Regions from separate parts of the Homo sapiens genome. Here region 2 is linked to region 1. The links are contacts of gene promoters, found by promoter capture Hi-C in blood cells and fetal thymus (Javierre and others, 2016). All regions are on one chromosome and are shown on one strand. Each heading gives the region's core, a stretch centred on a gene start or on the middle of the fragment in contact. The rest is flanking DNA. Distances are from core to core; before and after follow the strand shown.

What was found. Contacts are between HindIII fragments. The CHiCAGO score rates a contact against its expected background, and 5 or more counts as called.
Region 2: a contact is called between a fragment that was not itself captured here and the fragment with the promoter of SPEF2 in region 1, in 5 of 17 cell types (naive CD8 T cells, total CD8 T cells, activated CD4 T cells and 2 more). The highest score is 6.7, in naive CD8 T cells.

The regions. Positions count from the first base shown.
Region 1 is chr5:35,615,108-35,620,360 of GRCh38, forward strand. SPEF2 (sperm flagellar 2) reads left to right here and starts at 2,756. Exons shown (of 37, transcript NM_024867.4): 1 at 2,756-2,948. The coding sequence starts at 2,891. RefSeq lists an enhancer at 2,799-3,606. The HindIII fragment of the contact is 5,837 bases long and covers 1,030-5,253 here.
Region 2 is chr5:35,883,559-35,888,811 of GRCh38, forward strand. No RefSeq gene overlaps it. Among named protein-coding and RNA genes, the nearest start is that of IL7R, 29 kb to the left of the region's middle. The HindIII fragment of the contact is 1,788 bases long and covers 1,906-3,693 here.

The DNA of each region.
Region 1 (5,253 bases), core at 1,506-4,005:
CACTAATACTGAAATAGCTGAAAAATAAATCAAGGCCAGGTGCAGTGGCTCAAACCTGTAGTCCCAAGTCTTTAGGAGGCCAAGGCAGAGGATTGCTTGAGCCCAGGAGTTCAAGACTAGCCTGTGCAACATAGAGAAAACTCATCTCTACCAATGAATGAATAAACAAATAAATAAATAAAGCAATTTCATTTCCAATTGGTACAATAAAAATATACACCTAGGAATACATTTAACCAAGACAGTGAAAGACCCTACAAGAAAAATTATAAAACACTGATGACAGAAATTGAAGAGGACACAAACAAATAGAAAGACACCCCATGTTCATGAATTGGAAGAATGAATATCATTAAAATGATCATATTGCCTAAGACAATCTATAGATTCGATTCAATTCCTATAAAAATACCAAGATCATTTTCACAGAAATAGAAAAAACAATCCTAAAATTCATATGGAACCAATAAAGAGTCCATATAGCCAAAGCAATCCTAAGCATAAAGAACAAGGCTGGAAACAGCACAGTATCTGACTTTAAAGTATATTACAAGGCTATAGTAATTAATACAGCATAAGCTGGAAACAGCACAATATCTGACTTCAAATTATATTACAAGGTTATAGTAATCAAAACTTCTTGGTAGTGGTATAAAAATAGACTCATAGACCAATGTAACAGAACAGAGAACCCAGAAATAAATCCACATATTTATAGCCAACTGATTTTCAACAGAGGCACCAAGAACTATGTTGAAAGAACCCTCTCTTCAATAAATGGTGCTGGATAAGTTGGCTATCCATATGCAGAAGAGTAGAGCTGAACAGTATTTCTCACCACATACACAAATATCAACTCAAGATGGATTAAAGACTTAAATGTTAGACCTAAACCTATAAAACTACTAGAAGAAAACATAGGGAAAACACTTCAGGACATTGGCCTAGGCAAAAATGTTATGAATAAGACCTCAAAAGCACAGACAACTAAAACAAAAATAGACAACTGGGGGCTATATTAAACTAAAAAGCTTCTGTACAATACATGAAACAATCAACGGAGTGAAGAGACAACCCATTGAATGGAAGAAAATATTTGCAAACTATTAATCTGACAAGGGACTCATATCCACAACATACAAGAAACTCAAACAACTCAACACTAAAAAAACAAACAATCCCACTAAAAAGTGTGCAAAGGACACGGATAGACATTTCTCAAAAGAAGAGGTACAAATGGCCAACAGGTATATGAAAAAATTCATCATCTCTAATTATCAAATGCATATCAAAACCACAATAAAATACCATCTTACCCCAGTTAGAATGGTTATTATTAAAAAGACAAAAAACAACAGATGCTGGAGAAGATGTGGAGAAAAGGGAACTCATACTGTTGGTGGGGATGTAAATTAGTATGACCACTATGGAAGGCAGTATGGAGGTTTCTCAAAAAACTAAAAACAGAACTGCCATAAAATCCAGCAGTTCCACTACAGTGTATCTATCCAAAGGAAAAGAAGTCAGTATATCAAAGGGATACCTGCACTCACATGTTTATCACAGAACTATTCAAAATAGCCAAGATATGGAATAAATCTAAGTGTCCATCAGCGAACAAATGGAAAAAGAAAGAATGGTATATATACATAACGGAATACCATTTGTCCATGGAAAAGAATGAAAACAGGTCATTTGCAGCAACATGGATGAACTGGAGGCCATTATGTTCAATGAAATAGGCCAGGCAACAGAAAGACAAATACTGCATGTTTTACTCATATGTGGTAGCTAAAAAAGTTGATCCCCTGGAGATAGAGAACAAAATTATGAGTACCAGAGACTGGAAAGGATGTGAGGGTGGGAAGGGGAAATGAAGAGAGGTTGGTGAATGGGTACAAACTTATAGTTAGATGGAAGAAATAGGGTCTAATGTTAGCTAGCAACTGGGGTGACTATAGTTAGCAATGATACATTGTATATTTCAAAATAGCTAGAAGAGAAGATTTGAAATGTTACCAACGTATATAAATGATAAATACTCAAGGTGATGGATACCCCAAATACCCTTCTTCTTTTTCTTCCTCTTCTTTTTTCTTCTTCTTCCTCTTCTTTGATCTCTCCTTGTTCTCCTCCTTCTCCTTGTTCTCCTTCTTCTCCTTCTCTTTCTTCTTTTCCTCCTGTTCTTCCTCTTCTCCTCCTCCTCTTCCTCTCCCTCTCCTTCTCCTTCTTGTTATTCTTTCTTCTTTCTTCTTCTTTTTTGAGACAGAGTCTCATTTTGTTGCCCAGGCTGGAGTGCAGTGGCTCGATCTCGGTTCACTGTAAACTCCGCCTCCTGGGTTGATCCTTCCACGTCAGCATCCTGAGCTGGTGGGACCACAGGCGCACGCCACCACGGCCGCCTAATTTCTTACAGAAAAAAAAACGGTTTCTGCTACCTTGCCCAGGCTGGTCTTGAACTCCCAGGCTCAGTCGAGCGCCACCCCCTCCACAAAGTGGTAGGATTATTTGCGTGAGCCACGGAGCCCTGCGGAGACTCTGGTTTTACTTTCTGCTCACCTAAGAAGCTCCTGCTGTGTCCCTAAGTGTTCCCGCCTCGCCTCTCCCCACACCCACTGCTCCCTAACTTCTCTCACAGGCCCCCAACGGCTTCCTCCTGCGCTGGCGCACGCTCAGGTCTTACCCGCCAGCAGGTGGCGAAACACGATTTTCTGTCCTCTGCGGCTGAGCCCTAGCGTCCCCTCTTCTCTAAGGCCTTTCGCCTAGTTCCAGCCTGGATACGCTTCCATAGCAAAGGGTTGCCCTTGGCTACAGGAGGACGCGGGCTGGCAGGCTTGGTTCCTGGCGAGTTTCTAAGCCCCCGCCTGCGGTCTGAGGCACCGGCTGAACCATGTCGGAGATCCTGTGCCAGTGGCTCAACAAGGAGTTGAAGGTGTCCCGGACCGTGAGTGAGTGACCACGGCCAGGGGCGAGCGTCTGAGGGGCTAGCGGGGCGCAGAGCCTGCAGCGCAGCGCAGCGCACTCAGGGAAGGTGGCGGGCAGGGCGCGAGCTGCACAGGTGGGGCACCTGCGTAGCCGGCAGCATCCCACAGTGAGCAACTCGGCTCGGCGGTGCCCCAGGTCCGTCCCGCCACCTCCCTACAGCTCACCCCAGCCAGGGCAAGGCCTTGTCACGTCCCCACTCTGCCGCTCTCGAGTTACCCTTGTCACGGTGGGCCCAACCCGCAGGCATTCTGACTTTGTGATGTGGTTCTAGGCAATCAGAGGGTTTAGGAAGGTCTCCTTTGCTTCTGTGGAGAGGGAACTTTGCTGGACTTTGTAGTCTGACCCCAACGATGCCTCCTTCACATCACCAGAAGCAGAAGCATGGTGTGGTGGCTAGTCGATGAAATATGAAGCCACTGGACAAGTTACAATACCTTCTCTGAATGTGTTTCCTTCTCTATAAAATGGACCTAATAATGCTTTCCATACTTAACTGACCAGCAGGGGAGGGTGGGTGAAAAATAAGTTAATGTAGAATATGTTAACATTTACAAATTTTAGTAAATTTTAAGCCCCAAATCACAAACTAGCTATTTCTGGTCACTATTGGCTCTTGCCCAAAGCTGACCTTATTCACCAACCTAATTTTATCCTAACCATGCAGTTGCCACCCAAAGTTTCCAAGTCTGACAACCACAGAGACAATTTTACATGCTGGCAGCTTCCTTGACTGCCCTGTAATTCTTCAGGAGTTCATTTTTCAGTTGGTTTTGTTTGTCTTTTTTTCTTTTTTTGCTTAAGGGAAGAGGTTTTCAGGGCAAGTCATTTCAGTCCATTTTCCCAGAAGAACTTGCTTAACACCAGCTTGCTACCAGAGAGGCAGTGGTGCCAGTTCAACCTTAGCTTATCTACAGAAGTTGCTAGATCGGTAGTGTTTCTGTGGGTGCAAAGTAGTTATTAATACTCTCAGCATGAGGATCTTTAGCACGGAGCATCTCCTGTTGCATTTCTTGAGGCATAAACCTCAGACTCTTTCTTTGTCAAATAACCATCTACACACTCCCTGTGAACTGCAATAAATTCTTTCCTGGTATTCTACGATTATCCCATTGTGTCTCCAACTGTTTATTTGCTAAAATATGATGGACTGAGGACAATATTTAGCATTTATTGTTTCTTATTCCTGTCTCACCATAGGAGCCAAAATAAAATATCATGCCCTTAAGTTGTACTCTTCTAAAAGAAAAGCAGTTACATATTGCTTAGTTTAATTTAGTTCATTTATTTTATTAGTAAAAACCACACCCGGGCCGGGTGCGGTGGCTCACGCCTGTAATGCCAGCCCTTTGGGAGGCCGAGGTGGGCAGATCATGAGGTCAGGAGTTCGAGACCAGCCTGGCCAACATAGTGAAATCCTGTCTCTACTAAAAATACATTAGCCGGACGTCGTGGCGGGTGCCTGTAGTCCCAGCTACTTGGGAGGCTGAGGCAGGAGAATCGCTTGAACCCAGGAGGCAGAGATTGCAGTGAGCCGAGATCGCGCCACTGCACTCCAGTCTGGGCAACACAGAAAGACTCTGTCTCAAAAAACAAACAAAAAACAAAACAAACAAACAAACAAAAAACACCCTTTGCTGAAGTCCCCAGGACTCTATTGCAACATTTTGAAATACTTTTAGGAGAAATAAATGAAATTAATAAAGATACATAAAATAAAAACAGTAGATGCCATTATAATTTTAATTAGTTTTGGGAATTTAGGTTTTGAGAGGTGGAGGATAAACATAAAAGGGCTGAAGACTAAGTAAGAATTTTAACAACATTTAGGCTATGGATAGAAAATTCCTGGCGTCTGTGCTCCTGAAGTGTAGATCTGGAAGCTAGCAGAGATGCCCCGTTCTAATGGAGTATTCTGCTTTCCATTCACTAGCAAAACGTATTAATTTTTTAATCTCAACTACTATAAGAGAGATAGAGCGAGAGAGTCCTTGAGGAGGTAACCAGATTCCACATTGTAAAAGGTCTTTGGGAACACACTTAACTGTGTTTGTAAGCCAACAAGCTAGGATTTGTGCACTCAAGGAAGCACATTTCCTGCTGCTGCTGCCCCATCATTAGATAAACTGTTGTGTGGTGCACAATGGAAGGCTTTGGATGGTTTGTAGAATCTATCATGGAAGGACTGTGAGTGGGTGCAACCTCTGGGGAAAGTAATCAGGCAATTTCTGGGTAAGGGAAGTGTAAAAAGCAAGAACTTGGAGGTTAGAC
Region 2 (5,253 bases), core at 1,550-4,049, 270 kb after region 1:
TTATCCAGTCCCAGGCATTTATTTATAGTAATGCAAGAACGAACTAACACAGCATGGAAGGCTCTTGATGATCTAGTGTATTACTTTCTTGTGGCTCCTGTAATAAATTATCACAAACTTAGTGGCTTAAAACAATACAAATTTATTTATTCTCCTGCAGATCAGGCATCAGAAGTCCAAAATCAGTCTTCTGGGGCAAAAATCCAGGTGTCAACAGGGCTGTGATACTTCTGAAGACTGCAGGGAGAATCCGTTTTCCAGCTTTTTTCATCCACCAGAGGCCACCTGTATTCCCTATCCCACAACCCTAGCCCCTTCCTCTATCTTTGAAGTGGACTATTTCATCCCCTGTTTCTATCATGACAGTGCCTTCTCTCATATTGACCCTCTTGCCTTATAAGATTCCTTGTGATTACACTGGGTCCACCTGCATAATCAAGGCTAATCTCTCCATCTGGAGATCTTAATATAATCACATCTACAAAGTCCCTTTGGCCATTGAAGTAACATATTTATATGTTTTCATTATTAGGATGTGGGACACTTTGTCAGGGACAGGGATTTTTCAGCCTACCTTTTTTCTTCACCTTTTGCCACCACTCTCAGCCTGTGGTCTCAATTGCCAGCCTTTACACTTGCTACCCCCATTGTCTGGGTAGTTCATACCAGTCCCTCAAGACTAGCCTCAGGCATTGCCTCTTCTGGGAATACATCCTCTTACAGGCCAGGATATGACTCATGGGTGCATTCCTAATAGCACTTCACTTATTTCTACTGTCACCACACTGATCTGTAATTACTTGATTTGTCTGACTCTTCTGGGGGCTTGTAAGCATTCTGGCACAGAGAACTATGACTTACTGGGGCTTACATCTCTTGCTAAACACAGTACCTAAAATTTAGTAGGCATTCCCTCATAAACATGAATGAATGAATCAAAGAATGAATAAACATTTAGGAAATGATGTTGTGTTGGTCAACTTCTTTCCTCATCACTGTTAAAGATAAAAGAATGCCAAGCCAGGTTGTTCAGACAGAAGCAAGCACCACATCCCTGAGAGAGCAGCACATCTGGGCAGCCATGTGTGAGAAGTCGGTTGCATTCCCCATACACAGTTGTCTTTGCAGCTGTACTCTTAACCACTGTAACCACAGAAGTGGGGAAACAATAGGGTGGGGTGAAGTGAAAAGAAAATTTTCCAAAACTTCATTTATCTAATAAATACAGATATTTAATTGTGTTTTTTCAGTTATTTAATTTTAGATTCATATGAAATTCTACCCTAATTTCTGAATTTTAATGGCTTGTGGCATTTGTGTGGGCATTTGTGTGTAGCTTGCAATGACACAGCTGTTCAGACAAAGAAAGTGTGATGCACAAAACCTATGAGGTCCAAGGAACACATTCATGCTCCTCAAGACTCAGGTAAAAGTAGTGAAGCAAACAATATGCAAAGCCCCTGAGGATTGAAAAATAAGGCTTACATACTGAATTGTGCTGAAACACTTGAGTTCATCTGGAGGGCCTCTCAATGGTAAATTGTTAGAACCAATTTGCCTTTACCCTAAGTAAAGATTTTTCATCAAGAAGAGGTGGAAAACTTACAGAGACTGAAAAGGACCCTCTTTTTATGATAAATTAGTTCCTGCAAAGTATGAACTGCACTAGTCATGACACAAAAACTATGCAGAATAATCAGAAAACATTTTATTATTAAGCTTATCCACTGATAGACTGAAATATTACTTTTAGAGCCTAAGAAAGCATTAATTTAATTAGAGCTTCAGTAAATGCTATAGTGTCAGACTGATAAACCTGTTTGCTACATAATTATAAACTTTCATGAATTTCACAGTGTGAAGTTCAAGTGTGAAGTTGCCAGTGTAGAACTGAATGATGCTTAAAGCTTTATTTTCTCAAATAAAAAATTTTAATAAAATAAGAGCAGATAAGCTAGGGTCATGCTCAGTGGTGAAATTTTAAAAGTACTCCATTATATTGAAGGATAAGACAAAAGAAATTCTATTGTCACTTCATTTAACATGGTTTTAGAAATTCTAAGAAATTCAATTAAACAAGAAAACACAGTAAAAAGCATAAATATTGAATAGGAGAAAATTAAATCGTCATTATTGGCAGATAAAATTATTGTATATATGGAAAACACAAGAGAATCAAGTAGAAAACACACTACAAGACACAGATACTTTATTAAGGTCTCCGCTTACAATATTCTCATGTTTATTTTTTTTAATTCTTATGGAATCTTTACAACTAAACTATTATTTGGTTGTGTCCTCAAATTAAAAAAAGATAGACATGTAATGTATCAAGTTGAAGATGTCACTTTCTAATCACACTCTTCAGGAATAGTCACATTTAATAAGTGACATTTAGGCTTCCAGATGCTCTTCTGTGCATACACTATTATTCTAAATATCTTGCAGAGAAATAAATGTTGGAGAATAGCCTGCACAATTCCAGAGAAGAAAAGAATTGTGAAGCAACTAACCATTCACGTGGTTTTAAAATTTGATTCAGCAGGAATTCACAGAACTATCAATGGTATAAAACAGAGAATCTGCAAGTCCAGATCTATGTAATTACAAAAAATTCATCCATTTCTAATCAGTAGGGTTAAAGTGGATTATTTAGCAAATAAGATTGGAATAACACACTAGCCATTTGCAAATGAAGAAAGGTAACTGACTTCTTATTTCAAAATAAATTCCACATAACTCAAAGATATAAATAATTTTTAAAATAAAAACAAATGCTAGAATACATGGATCAATCATTTCATATTTTTTGGATGCAAAAAGCGTTTCTAGATAAAACGTAAAACCTAAAAGCCATAAAAGGAAAAGATTGATATGTTTGACTAGATAAAATTTAGAATGCTGGTAATTTCTTTACTAAATTTTAAAAAGTCACAACCAAAAGAAAGATAAAAATAGACTGGAGAAAGACAGTAACACTATGACAAGCAAACTTCTGTTATCCTTATAAGACCCCAGAGTCTTACAAGTCAGCAAGCAAAAGATGAAGAGCCCAAGAAGGAAATGAACACAGCACATTAACAGAAGGCTCACAGGAGAAATAAAACAAACTTTAAAAATAGGAAAATGTGCGTAATCTCATTCTGAATAAACAATGCTGATAAAATGAATGAGATAAATGCTTTGCCCATTAAATTGTGAAAATTATAAAGATCACTAAATTTCAGTGCTGAGAAGGGCATAGGAAAATGGGCTTTATCATATACTGTTAATAGGAATGTAAATTAGGACAATTTGGAAATATATAACAAAAATTTTAATGTGTATACCTAGAAATTCTATGTATAAAATATCTATATATTATTTCTTGTAACTAAGAATTCTAAATCTAAATAAATTATAGTATATTCATATTATGGAATACTAACAAAGCCATTAAAAAATTCTTTTAATGTAAAAAAAAATTTCCTTCTTAGACTCTTCATCTTTTGCTTGCTGAATTATAACACTTCGGGTGTTAAGGATAACAGAACTTTGCTTGTCATAATGTTACTATGTTTTTCCAGTTTCTTTTTATCTTTTCTTTTGGTTGTGACTTTTTAAAATTTAGTAAAGAAATTACCAGCATTGTAAAACTAGCACGGTAGTGCTACATATGCTGATAAAGAAAAATGTCTATGTTATTTTGTCAAAAGCTTCTAGCAAGATAAAACTCTCCAAAAGTCTCCATCTTTCTCTTACTCCTTCCCCCTATCATTTCCATGAAAAATCCGAAATGTGCGGTGTATCTATCAGCTATTGCTACATTGATGCTCAACAACAAATCATGCCAAAACTCAGCGGCTTTAAGCAACATTTATTCTCACAAATTGTGTTGAATGATCTAGATTGGGCTCTGCTGGGTGATTCTATGATATTACTAACAGCTAGGATGACTCAGGGATCTGAAACTGAAGGAAAGTTAGCTGGGTTCAGCTGGGAATGCCTCTGTTCCATAAGTTTCCCGTCTTTCTCCAGAGACAAGCAGGCTAACCCAGCTGCCTCTTTTTACAGCAGGGGCATAAGAGGGCAAGCAGAAAAATGCAAGGCTGGCCTACCCATCAATTCCACTTCATTTTATTGGCAAAGAAGATCACATGACCAAACCCAGAATCAAGGAGTGAAGAAATATATTTCCCCTTGGGTAGAAACTTAAAATCACATGGTAAAATAGGTGGATAGGAGAAAGAGTGAAGAGTCAAGCCATTAATGCAATATCTTACAGTCATACATGAGGACAGCTTAGGTTACATTTACAGAAAGACACAAATGTCACCTCCCTATTTGAGGAAGCTCTTCCTATCTCATCCATATTGCAGCAAGACTACAGCCACATGCTTTCCATTACTTTGTGAAATAAGTTTTGTCTATATGTGTATTGAGAAACTTTAGGGAAGAAAAAGTATTTGGGTCATGCGAGGACTTCAATATACATGGATCTGTTAATCTAATAGCAAAATTATAATCATTTCTTACTGAAATTGTTAACATTAAAAAAATACTGTTCTCTTCAGTGTGAAATGGAAGGTTTTCCCTTTTATATGATTGATCCAGTTGAAATCATATGCATATCTTTGGGCCAATAACAGTCACTAGGAAAATGCCATGAACTTATTGGCTTGGAAATGGCTCACCTTTTCCAGAACTGAGAATGAGATGGGTACCTGGTCAAAATAGGGGTGACAAAGAAGGAAGAAACTGAGAATGTTGGAGAAGAAAACAAGAATGTCTATCATCAGAACGAGGGTTTTTTTTTTTTTTAATTAGAGAGAAAAAGAGGGAATATTAGAATGAGAATATGCTTAGAAAAAAGTTTGGAAGGCAGTGCTCCAAAATGTTTTCAGTGGTTATTGGGGAAAAGAATGGGATGGTGGTGGATGCATGAAAGCAGGAAACTTCCTCTTATTTCTTTTGTCTTCTTTTTTTTTGAGGGGGGTAGTATATAGATGTGTATATATGTATACATGCATATATATACATACATATGTATACATATATACATTCATATGTATACATACATATATGGGAGTATACATGTATGCATACATATGTATACATACATATATACATATATATGGGAGTATACATATGTATACATACATATATGTATGTATATATTATTATACAAAATAAAAGTATAAATTATGTATTAATATAACTCTTACTTAGAATTATTATTCTCATTTTTTCTGTAAAATCTAGACTATAATAACC